Regions from separate parts of the Homo sapiens genome. Here region 1 is linked to region 2. Evidence: promoter capture Hi-C in 16 types of primary human blood cells and fetal thymus (Javierre and others, 2016). All regions are on one chromosome and are shown on one strand. The core of a region is centred on a gene start or on the middle of the fragment in contact, and the rest is flanking DNA. Distances in the headings are between cores, read along the strand shown. Region 1 has its middle 22 kb from the start of GPR101. Region 2 holds the start of BRS3 (bombesin receptor subtype 3).

The links. The method cuts DNA at HindIII sites, captures the fragments that hold promoters and counts their contacts. A CHiCAGO score of 5 or more calls a contact.
Region 1: a contact is called between a fragment that was not itself captured here and the fragment with the promoter of BRS3 in region 2, in 1 of 17 cell types (activated CD4 T cells). The highest score is 5.2, in activated CD4 T cells.

What each region holds. Positions count from the first base shown.
Region 1 is chrX:137,052,483-137,058,619 of GRCh38, reverse strand. No RefSeq gene overlaps it. Among named protein-coding and RNA genes, the nearest start is that of GPR101, 22 kb to the right of the region's middle. The HindIII fragment of the contact is 1,730 bases long and covers 3,031-4,760 here.
Region 2 is chrX:136,484,564-136,491,174 of GRCh38, reverse strand. BRS3 (bombesin receptor subtype 3) reads right to left here and starts at 3,228. Exons shown (of 3, transcript NM_001727.2): 1 at 2,627-3,228; 2 at 691-1,042. The coding sequence starts at 3,060. The HindIII fragment of the contact is 2,387 bases long and covers 2,568-4,954 here.

The DNA.
Region 1 (6,137 bases), core at 2,646-5,145, 570 kb before region 2:
GGTATCCCAGCCCAAACCTATCTGTTTCAGATTGAATCATGTGCCTCAATTTCAGCATGAACTGGGACTGATGCTAGACTCAGAGAGATGACTCTTACTCTGTGTCTATTGGTTGTGCATTTCAGCCATGCATTGGTCTCATTCTATAGAGTGTTCAAGAAAAAGATTGATACCATGTGCAATATGCAGGCCCATCAGGTGGTCATGGGTGATTGCTGGTGTGAGGAAGAAAATAGGCCGTCACTATGTCAAGTGCTGAGGTCACATTCTTAAAAGAAGTTGGCTCATTAGGACCCTAAGTGCTTCTAGTGCAAAAAAGATCCTGATCCTCAGAATTATGAGGAGAAACACCCATGACACCCCCGTGACAGAAACCCTTATGAAAAGCACTCTAAATGTTTTTCCCCTACCCCTCTTAAAGAGCCAGAGGACACCATCACCCTATTGGATAATTGTAAAATGGACCAATGAAGACTCTAGGTCCTATTGAGAGCCACAGCTGATCAACATGCCAAGGAGTTAATTCAAACTTGACTTAAGTTTAGTGTACCTTGACCCAGTGAAATAATAATTGCCATATTAAAGGCCCCTAACCCTGATGATACTGATTTGGGACTCTCTGGAGGAAGAAATTTATAAACATGATCAGAGACAACCCCTTTCCCCCCATAAGGTATATCTGGTAACCACCAAAACAATAACAACAACAAAACAAAAAATTAATACAAGGTGAGGAAAGAGTAGCTGAAGCAGAGGTCTGAAATTTGACCAAATTGTATATCCAAAATTTACTAAAATAATTTATGCAACAGAAAAATGAAAGAGTGCTGATTGGCTTTTGCACCTGACATAGATTCTAAATTAACTTTAACATCTGCTGAAATGCATTAACTGGCAAACTTTCATGGCCTTAATTGATACTAGGGCTCAAATCACAGTTATACATGGAGGTCCACTAAATGTAAATGTGGGATCTTCTATTCACTTACGGAAGTTACCAGATATAAAAATAGAAAACAAACAAGTATGTTTCACCTTAACCATCAAGAACTACTGCCTTAACTAAATTGCCCATGGTCATAGTGCCCATTGCCCTACATAGCTGGACCCTCTCAGCACCCACATCATTAAATGAAGCCCAACATCTTTCAGACATTTTTGGTCCTAGAGGTAACATATTCTTTGTTTACAATTTTTGCTTAAGCTCACTTACACAATTTTTGCTTAAGTTCAGCCCATCTTGTATGGGACCTCCTGCTACAAAAGGCTCCAGAATCTGTCTAAACTGCAATGGCAGTTCTATTAGTGCCCTCCAAAGAGTTCTTCACTGTAGAGGTTTTAGCAACCTCTTGTGTCTTGTGGAGTCTCTGGACCACCTATGATGACCATAAGTTGTCTGTGGGTTATTGATGTGAAAGAAAAACCTACTCTCCTCAGCCCCACACTACATACCATTAGAGCAGCAACTGCTGGCTGCATACTATGCTGTTTTGGAGACGGAGACTCTGACAGGGGGCTCTCTGCACCCAGCTGCCCATTATGCTTTTGATCATGAAGGCCACACCCCTCCTTATTGAAATGAAAATGATACTTACATGATGGAGCCAAACCTGGACCCTCTGGCATATTCCACTGAAAGGAAGGGGTGGCCTCTCCTGTTCCCAGTCCTTTAAGAGATGCAAAGGAGATTACCCATGTCTCAGATGCAATGACCACATGGGGAGCCCCTTGGGATCAACTGGATGATAAGAAAAGGGAGTCTGTACACCTTACACATGGCAGTGTTGCTGGAGAGCTGCTGCTGTCTATCTCCTACCCTGGATGTCCCTGATCAAGGATGTTACCAACAATCCGGCCATCTGGTCTAACCAATGGCACCTACGATCCCTTATCCAAGGTTTCCCCCTTTAAGGCAAAGAATTCTGGAAATTTATTCCCTCACAAATAACCAAAATACAAATCAAGCACATATTTAACACCATAATACAAGGCCTCACCAAGGAACTAATTATCCTCTTCAGAGTTCCAGACATCATTGACAGTGACCAAGGCACTCATTTCACTTCTCAGAATCCACAATGCTGGTATCTTAAACAAGATATTCAAAGAAACATTCACCTCCCTTACTGGTCTCAGGCTGCAGGCCTCATAGAGCACCATAATGGCTTACTTAAACAAGTTCAAATTCAATTAAATAAAACGTAGCACAATTCAGTCATCAGTGAAACATCAGAGGTGAATTGCAACAGAGTCTCACTTCGATTTTGGTGTTTGACTGCCAACAGCTTTCAATCCCAACTATCCCCTTTCCCTTTTTCCCCATATTTAAGCAAGCCCATAAGAAAGTCTAGGTAATACTTCCTTTGGAGCCCATGGGGAAGTTCAAACCATGCAAACTTCAGCCCATGCATGTGAACTCTCACCCCAACCCCGTGCCCTAACTACAATAAAATCAAAGCCACTAGCCCCTTCCTTCACTCAGCCTTTGGTGTCTGCTTTTGGACCTGTTTGGGGGGCCTGCCCTGCCCTCCCAAGAAAGTCTCATGATGCAAGTATGCCTTTTCATACTTCTTGGTGCATGTGTGACATCAGCAGCCTCAACTTCCAAACCAGTTAGGGGTAAAGGGTTGATCCCACCCTCCTTAAGGCAACCACTAGACAGACATTCTAATTAATAAGCATTATAAAGCTTATTAATCATGTTTCTAATGAAAGCTAACCCCACCTCCAGCAGAAATTGACTTTTAGTTACAAAGGGGATTTTCTCAATTGTATTTGTGAAGGAAGAAGACATTTTAGAAGCTTACATAACATGTCACATAGCTCCCCCACTCCCACTTAGCTGCAGATTAATTTCCCCTTAAATGTATTCGCAAAAGCTGACTTTTCCAGTCAGGCAGAAAAGAATACAAGATTCAAAGTCGTCATCTGTGCAGAAATCCTGATAAAGACTTTAAAGAACTGCAATGTCACAGCTCCCCTCAGATTGTTAATCCTTGAAAAGGGGAGTCTACGTTGTCCAAGCAAGCTTTGTTAATGCTATAACCATCACACATTTGACCAACAACAACAACAAAAAAGCAGCAGCATTAAGATTGAAGTTCTAAGTAGGTTTTATAGAACAGAAGGCTCTGTAAGACGTTGTATAGTGAAAATGATACTGACAAATGCCATAGCAACCAAAACTGCTTGTTGCCTTGTGAAAATTAAAATCTTCCTGATAGTCAGGCATTCGATGTGTGCCCATAAATGAGCATGTGAATAAAAAGGCTCCCTTGGAATAAAAATCCATTCCATCATTGCTAACACTGTTCAGGAAAGGGGAAACTTTGATTCTAAAAATCTCTTTTTCTCAGACCAATCCTGCACAGAAGATATCAATTTTGGCTTTCACTGAAAACAGTAAGAAGAAATCTGTATTTATGCGAAAATGTGAAGCAGAAAGATGCCTCCAGAAGCATCCACTTAACTGCCTGCCCATCAGCGGGGTTGTGCTCCCAGGCAAGGCTCTTTAGAAATACTGTGTTTCCACAGAATGGGATTTCATTTCCTCCCTTTGCTGAACACTGATCACAGCCCTCACTCACAGAGTTCTTTCTGAGTCTAACTTCCATTCTTCTTGCTTCTTCTGTCAGTGCTTCTCATTCTTTTGGAGATTGTTTTCCTTACACCCAACTGGTAGATTTGATGATGGTTCAGCATCCTGTCAGTTTTGGGATAAGTCCTCAGCTCTTTAATCCAGCCTGGTCCATAGGTTAACAAACTCAGAAACATTCCTATTCAATCGCCATGCTCACCCTAGCACTAGTCCTCTTGAACATGAATCCTCCTCTCTCTCTTTCCTAGGAGTTGCTGCACTTCACTATTCTCATGAAAAAAGAATTCTAGTGGACAGGTGTTTTCTCCTTCTACTGTGCCCCCACCCCCACCTCAAATCAACAGGTTCTCAGGATCCACAATCTCACCAAAAGCAGAATGAACAACAACTTAAACTCTTCTTATGAGCTTCCCACTTGATGAACCTCTCTGATCCTCACTCAGCCCTGTAGGTGGTTGTTGTCCATTTCCACATGAGGAAACTGAGGCTCTGAGTCAGAGGGAAACCACTCAAAGTACTAGTACTTCGGAGAAGGAAGAGTCCAAACTTTAACTCCTAGTTGCCAAATGTGCCCCAGGGGCCTCAGGCTAGCCCAACTCCCCACCCACCATCCAGCCTGGAGATCTACGTCAGTCCTTCCCTCCCAACTTGAAAAGTGCTGGTGACACCAATGAGAATACCCAGTAGCCCTTTCTGGGAGTCCAGCCTACCAACCCAACTGAAGAACGCCTCATACAGAAAACAAACAAACTAACCATGCCGAGGTACGCCCCTCAGGCCCTCTGCCTAATTCTCTCAGGGGTCTTGCCTACTTCCCTGTAAGCCAAAGATATATGAGTCTCTGCTAAGTCGTGAGCAGTGGGAATCTTCTTTGATATTTGGCCTACTCTTCCCTCCCAATTCTTCTACTTGCAAGGAAGTTGCACAGTTGCAGAGAGGAGCAAGCATTTGAAAACTGACAGAAGAAATCAAGTTTGAACCTTGGATTTTGTACATGTCGGACAATAGAATTTAACATATAGAGAATATGTGCAGTTCGCTGCATAGCCCAGGGGTTAGAACACTGGCCTTTTAAAATGTAGAGGATGTAAGAGGAGAAAAAGAAAAAGAAGAAAAACACGCATTTAAGAAGACCCATACAATATGAGTGCTGCTGTAAGCTTTGGATTGTTTGAAGGTGGCATGCAATATTTTTTGCAATTGTATTTCTCTTATCATTTTCTCTCTCCAGCCTCTTACAAATCTCCCTTTCACAGAAAAGACTTTTAGTGATGGGTACTGAATTGGAATGTTCTACTTGTGATGAACCTGTCCTACCGAGTTTACATAAAAGGAGAGGGGAGAAGGAAAAAAAAATCAAATAAGAGAAGATAATGCCATAATTCAAGCAATAATAATTCTTCTTACTTTGTACTTTAAAACATTTTAACATTGGAAGGGATGAATACATGTTCTCGCAGCCTCTGCTATTCAATAGTAAAATTCATTAGGTGGCAACAGAGAGAAACCTTGGTGTCATTAAGAACACAGAGAAGGGGGGAAATGAAGGCCAGTGTTACAAGCCCCATGGCCAAATTCAGAAATGAATGATAATTAAATTGCCTTTCAAAGTGCGCTCGCGAGCCAGACACACGTTTTGAATCCCATCCACATTTGCAGAGGGAAGAGGTAGACAACGCCTGGAATGTTGTCTTTCAGAAGTATTAATGAGCACTATAAATTTCATCCACGTATTAATGATAATTCAGTCCTCATTAAGCGCCCGTGCTGATAGCAACCCACATTTCGGCACAGCAGGCCCTGGCAAATTTATTTTCCCTTTGTTAAATCCAGTTTACTCTACCAGTTTGCCAAGCAATAGACAGAAGCTGCGAGGGTGGTAGAAATCGATGTCTAAGTCTGACCAAACACCGGGTTTTCTAAAACGACAGCGCCTGCGCGCGAGCGGCACGCGGGCATCTTCCTGGCATCCGAGGAGATGGGGCTGCGCCTGGGGCCACCGGGTTACGTTTAGTGAGGAGTAGACTGCCCCTTTCTCCTCTCAGTGCTTCTCCAAACAAAAATGGTAGCGAAGGCAGCAGATGACAGTCGCGAGGGCGCTGCGAGATGGGGACTCGCACCTCGAGTTGAGTTAGGGGTGTGGGTGACCCCTGCTGAATCCTATCGCAGGCGCTGTTCTCTGGAGGAGACGGCGCCTTCGGGGGCAGGTGCCGCAAAGTCAAGAACCGACAGAGCCCCCCGGTTTTAGTAAACTTTTAGCTAAATAAATAAATAAACAAACAAGAAGCGGTCTCGGATCTGCGTCTTATGGGTCTGTGGGGGATGGTCAGGACACCCAGGAATGAAGATTGGGGTATGCGGCCGTGCCGAGGGATCTTCACAAACACCCTTGGTGGGGCGGGGAGAGCTGGGGCCGCGGGCACCCGCGCAGTGACAGCTCCTGGGCACTAGAGGGCGCCGTGCGCGCAGTTTGCCTTCGCCGCGAGCAGGGAAAGGGCGGGGTTAGGGGCCTCCCAGAGGGTGGGAGTAAGAGCGAGTC
Region 2 (6,611 bases), core at 1,979-4,478:
TAGAAAAATATTTTTAATCAAATGGAACTATGTTTTGGCAACATTCCTTTTATTCTGTCCATATTTATGAGAGGGAGGGTACACGTGGCTCTTGCAGTGGTCTTAATCAAGCTTCTGTGAGTCACTGTGTTCTCGTGCTACTTGCATTCCACTCTTTCCCCTCACTCCTCCCCACCTCAGTTTGCTCATCTGTGTGTAAGTGGTTTGCATTGAATAGTGTTACGGATTCTTGCCAGTTCTATATGCTATGTATTTTTATTCTGTTACACTTTCTAAAACAAAAGATGCTTTTCTTCATAGTATCATCTTATGCAGTGTTCCCCACTATTCCATGGGGTAAAAAATTTTGACTACTCTCAAACTTCAATTGTCCCCTCTCTAATAGTAGTAGTCTTACCATTTATTGAAATACTTACTCTGCACCTAAGCATTTCATCTATATCATCTAGTAATCATCTTCATTTTACAGATGAGGAAACCGAGGCTCAGAAAGGTTAGGTAACTTGCTCAAGATTACTCAGCTAGTACGTGATAGAACTGGGATTCAAACCGGAGCCTATGCTCATAACAAAAATACTACACTGCTATTGCATTTATAAACAGGAAGATACACAGTTACTCACTGTGCAAAAGTAGGAACTTCACTTCTAAATTCAAACTAGATTTGCATGAGTACTGATTAATACATACCTGCTTACGGGCATGGCTTTGTTCCTCAGTAGGTATGTTCAGGGTGCTTTTGTAAAGGGTCCTAGCAATCAAGGAATAGTAGACAGAGATAATAGAGAGTGGAATAATGTAGAACACTAAGAAGCACAGCAGAGAATGTATTTCTTGCAAGAGCTTCTTAGAGACAGGATAAGAGGTACATGATTCAAATGTCATATTTTTATTGGGATCTCGAAAAGTGTATACATTTGAAAATATAGCCTCAGGTAGAGCAAATATCATAGACACGATCCAGACGCAGCCAGCTTTTACACAAGTCTTCAGGATGGCATTGGAGGGCTGTCGCTCAAGTGGCTTCACAACTGCCTTGTATCTAGAAACACATAATCAGAGGCAAAGGTCCAAATAAATGTCAAAGTTACCAAATTTTAGGGTGAGAAGTGACCTTAGTGGTCATCCAGTTCTACCCTCCGTGCATATGTGTATAACCAAGTCAACATTAACCAACTAGAATTGGCTATGGTTTTAAATGCACATAATACATCCCAATATTTTTATTTATGCTAATCTCCTTTTCCATTATTCACTCCTATGAGATATTCCAGATTTGCAATTTTATAATTTTATGTATAGACTCTCTATTTAGGACAAATAAACATTTATCAGCATGACTTTATGTGTGACTGAGAGTAATTCACCACCTGTGTATTACCTTAAGTGTAATACACTTAAGGTACCTAAAAGACTTCTTTTGTATAAGTGACTGATGTTAAACTGAATTAATTTTCCTTTCTTCATGAGTGAACAGTTATCAACCTTCCTAGAAGAGAATTCCAAGGGTTTATGTGGTAAAGAGGAGAGGATTAATTTCTTCCCCGTTTGTAAGTGTTAATTCGTTGCCCAACCTGATCAGTGGACAGATTTAGGGCGAGGCAAAGTTGCAATCAGAAGTCCTGTGCCGGTACAGAGATACCTCCTCATTCAAACAAATCCACCTTAAAATCTACAGTCATTAAGCCAGTCTGCCCTCAAATAGAATATAAGACCAGTCAAAGCAAAAATCATCAAAAGACACAGGGAAAGGTTTTCCTCCTCTCAGATTCTAGAATCTGAAGAAGTTATTCCTTCTGGTACTGCCAAACATCGATTACTTACAGGAATCTTGCAGGCTTTGTAAAGCATCATTTTTAACATTTGGAGCCTCAAATTTTTTCATGTTTTTACAGTTATTCTACAATAGGAACACAGAAAAACAGAGTACTTGGACTGAAAATATCCTAACACAGAATCTGAACACCCTGACTGCAAGAGGATCTCACACGCTCTCTCCACAGAGCTCTAAAAGTCAACCAAGATTAATTTATTTCTCTGGAAATGATAATGTCACTGAATGCCTACAGAGAAAACAAGTAGAATTACGTGATGACATTACACTAAGTTACCAGGGAGTTGAAAACCTCACCGTTTTTCTGCCATTAGCTAATTTGATGAATTTCAAATAAATTAGATGCCTGTGTCTTTTTACCACTCTTCCAATATACAGTTATACATATGTGGTCAATTTCACACCTATCCTGGTTTTCATGTTGACTATATTGCACCACTAGGCTGCACTAATGTATAAAGCATGAATTTTTTTCCTTTACACCTGGAACAATTTGCTTTACTTAATAAACTGGAGAAAAATAAAAACCCCGTTCAGTATACTTCCGAGCAAACAATAAGAATAAATTATCCATAAAGCATGCAATTTCAACTTCTCCTCCGTGCTAACACAGAAATTTTAACATTCTTACACTAACTTTTATTTTAAATGCCACCAGATTTTCCAATCTCACATCCACGTTACAGAGTGTGAGAAAAGCAGAATAGTAGCCAGTAAATGCTAAGTACAAGCTTTCCTTTCTTTTTGCCCAATTTCACATCCTGGCAAATATAATGGAGAAAAGAAACTCACCTGTCAGCGCTGAGAATTGTTAATGTGAACACTGACACACCAACAGAAGTGAGCCGGATGAAAGAGAGCACCTTACAACCAATTCTTCCGAACAGCCATCCTTCTGCAAGGTAGTGAGTTGCATCCACTGGCACACAAGTTAGCAGAAGTAAAAGATCTCCAAAAGCCAGGCTGGTGATGAAAATATTTGGAACTGTTTGCATGGATTTGGTCTTGAAAAAGACTTTGATGAGAATAGCATTTCCAAGGATGCCCACTGAAATGATCACAGCATAAGTAATATAGATGGCACACAATGCTTCTATTCCTGGAGAGTTGTCCCCGCTCCATCCTTTATTTGTGTTATCGTTAGAAACCACAGAGCTTGATGATTCTGTGTCATTTGTGATTGAAATTAAAGTCTGATTAGGTGAGTGAGGCTGCCTTTGAGCCATTTCTTCTGAAGACTGTGTCTTTAATATTTCTTCTTCTCAGTTCAAATGCAGTTGATTGTCACGTCCAATGCCTACGTCTAGTAACGAGATGGTATTAGGAGAACAGAACAGAACAGAATGGGAAGAAAATCCAAGACATCCAGATACTCCTTTGCTTCAGTTCTGTGTGTCTCCCAGCATGCTTGGCTAAATGCTTACCCATCTGGCACTGAAGAGTAGGAGGTGGAGTTTTATTGGCGTGTCCTGTCATAAGGAGAGGGAGGGGGCTGGGGAAATGCTCTGCAGTTGCTTATTCTTCCCTGTTGGGGAATCTTGGGACCAACTAGACCCTATTAAATCGTCTTATTTATTATTAGAATCACCCTGTTTTCATATCTACCCAGGATGGTCTATATAGGTTTTGTCAATTTTTTTTAAGAAAAAAACCATTTATCCCCCTGCAATCACATGGTAGTCTAGTGCATTTTGTTTTACATGATAAATAAGTGTAGGTGTCCCCTGAAGCACAACCTTGAACCCACTCCTCAAAATTTAATATCAGAGAGATGGTGAAGCAACAGATCATTTACACTTCGACAGGGTTTATGTCACCTCCAAGGAGTGATCATTCAGGTCACTTGGGCTTAATACCTAGCTCTGTCACGTGGTAAACCCCAACTTTGCAGTTATCCAGGCTGTGCTGTACACTATCAAAACAACCTTTTTAATTTTTTTTTTTTTTTTGAGATGGAGTCTCACTCTGTCACCCAGGCTGGAGTGCAGTGGCTCGATCTTGGCTCACTGCAACCTCCACCTCCTGGGTTCAAGCAATTCTCCTGCCTCAGTCTCCCGAGTAGCTGGGATTACAGGCGCCCGCCACCATGCCTGGCTAATTTTTGTATTTTTAGTAGAGACAGGGTTTCACCATGTTGGCCAGGCTGGTCTTGAACTCCTGACCTCAGGCAATCCGCCTGCCTCAGCCTCCCAAAGTGCTGGGATTACAGGCATGAGCCACCACACCCAGCCAAAACAACCTTTTAAGAGATGAAAAATCCAGGCACAGCACCAGTTGCTTTGTCTCTAAATGTCCTAATAAAACCACTTTTTACTGTTTGACTGTCTGTTTTAATGCCATGTTTTCTTTTAAGGGGCTGTTTAGGATTTTTCTCTCTAGAAATGGTTAAAGGGAACCTAACCTGCCTTATTCCAAAACAAAACAATACAGAACATCACTGCTCAAGCTCCTGACACAAAAGAACTTTTAAGAATGAAAATCATCATTTGCAGATGAAGAAATGAAATAGGTGACTCCAGGGATGATGGGCATGTAGATGATGTTTACATCAACTGAAAGAAGTACACATTTAAGGCAACCACCTCAGTACCAGCCAGAGAAGCTACTTTTTACAGAAAACATAACCATGTGCTTTATATGTATGTGTTTGTGGTGGGGGCACTGTTTGGGAGCAGGAAGCTAGCAGTTGGAGTGTAGTTACTAATTGAAGCTGCTAAGAAATATTCTCTGAAATTATCAAATGCAATGCATAATCTCTCAGCTAGAAACCATGTAGTGAGGTGTTCATAAATATAACCATATTAGAAAGTAGTCTGGGGAGCGAAGTGAAAAAGAGCAAAGTATTTGGCTAGCTAATGAACAGGGGGAACAACAAAGGTTGTTCTTTATACTTAGTAGGGGCAATCAGTTCTTCAGAGAAAGTGAAGTGGATGAATTGAATCAATTACCTCCTTAATTTCATGAAGGGTGGAAGACAGATGTGGTTTAAGTCCCCCAAACCACACCTATCCCCCACCCTTTATAAGTTATTGCCACAGCTTGAATCACTCAGCTAAATAACTGCCTTTGATGGGAATGGGGGTGCGGGGGAGTGTTTGCATAAACCCAAGTTCCTAAGCTTTCAGATATATACACTCTAGTAATTTCATACACTGGGCTGGTTCTTTAAGATTGTCTCTACAGAAAAGGGCTCCTTAAAGGGTTCACATCTTGTTCTCAGCAAACTAATGATAAAATCTCCCTGGGACTCCTGTGTATCATTTACCAAGGAGCAAACCATGTCTTCCAATTCACACCACAGCCGATCTCCACATGGCACTGTTTTGTAAGTTCTGTAATGCTTGCATGTGATTTCTGAGATTATCTGAATTCCCAGATCTCACTCATGCTTTCAGCAGGCTGCAGCCACTGGAATACTTTTTCTTCTCCCTCTTCCTTCTGATCAAGAGCGGTCAAGAGAGAGTAGTTGTATTGGAGTAGTACTGGAGCAGTGGGGGTCTTAGATCTCTAGAATTCCAGAATCCCAGAATATCAGAGATGGAAGTGACCCTAGACATGATCAAATCAAATGCTCTCATTTTGCAGAGGCAGAAATGAGGTCCAGAGTAGGGAAAGTATCTCACCCAAGGTCTCACAAGTTCTCAACAGAACTAAGATGAAACACAGATTCTCTTTGGCTTCTGAAAGGTTAAAAATCAGTGACAAGAGCTGAAAAACACTCAGTTCCTGACAATGAGCCATATTTGCTCATTTGGCATTGTAGGCTTAGGTTTTCTGCGTGTTCTATTAACCAAAGAACAAGAGATTTCCAGGCTAACCAGTGATTCATGATAGATAATTTAAATGCATTTGCTTTTGTATCTCTTTTACAACCTTATAATTCACTAGCAAAAGATAACCATGTCTTGTTAATCATTTTTAGCTAGGCACTTGGCCTATACAAAATGATGAAATCCTTTTTTGTTTTTAGTACATAAGTGGTCAATATTATCATCCAAGATTTTCAAAACAACTACTTGGTTTTAGATAAGGAATTGTAATACAATCCTAATGCAGCTTTTTGACTCAGAAAAGTATTAGAAGTTGAATGAATAAGTTACCAATTTTCTGAAGTTGTGTTTTCTGGTTCACAGCCCAATTTAGTTGGTGTTGTAAAAATGTTTTTTTAAGTCTCTAAGGAGCTGGGCATCTAAGGGTGCTGAAGAAGCCTTCTCTACCTCTCAGGTGGTGGGGAGAGGGGTTAGAAAACAGCTGCCAGAGAGAAGCTGCCAATTTGGTTCTAAGATTCTCGGCCATCAGTAAACAGGACAGTGGTTCTCAAATTTTGGCTTGCCCCAGAATCATCAGGAAGGCTTATCAAAACACAGATTGCTGGGTCCCACCTCCAGAGCTTCTGATTTGGTAGGTCTGGCGTGGGACCTGAGTATGTGCATTTTGAACAAGGTCCCAGGTGATGAGGATGCTGCTGGTTGGGACCACACTCGAGAACCACTTAGGATAAAAATAATTCAGTTCTTCCAAGAGGATCATGGGTTTTTTTTTTCCTGATACTGAGGTGCAACAGATATTTCTGTGGGTCTTCATTAATGAAAAAGGTACTCTCTGCTGTGATAGATATGTCAAAAACCTTCCTGGAGCTGGCTGTCCTCCCTATATATCTTAATCCCTGGTAAGCCAGATTCACTGAACTCTTGGGCATCTATGCCCAAATCATCCAGGGTGCTTGGGGTGATCTCTCCAATGGGAGAAAGATGAAGTGCATAAACTTTTTGCCTCT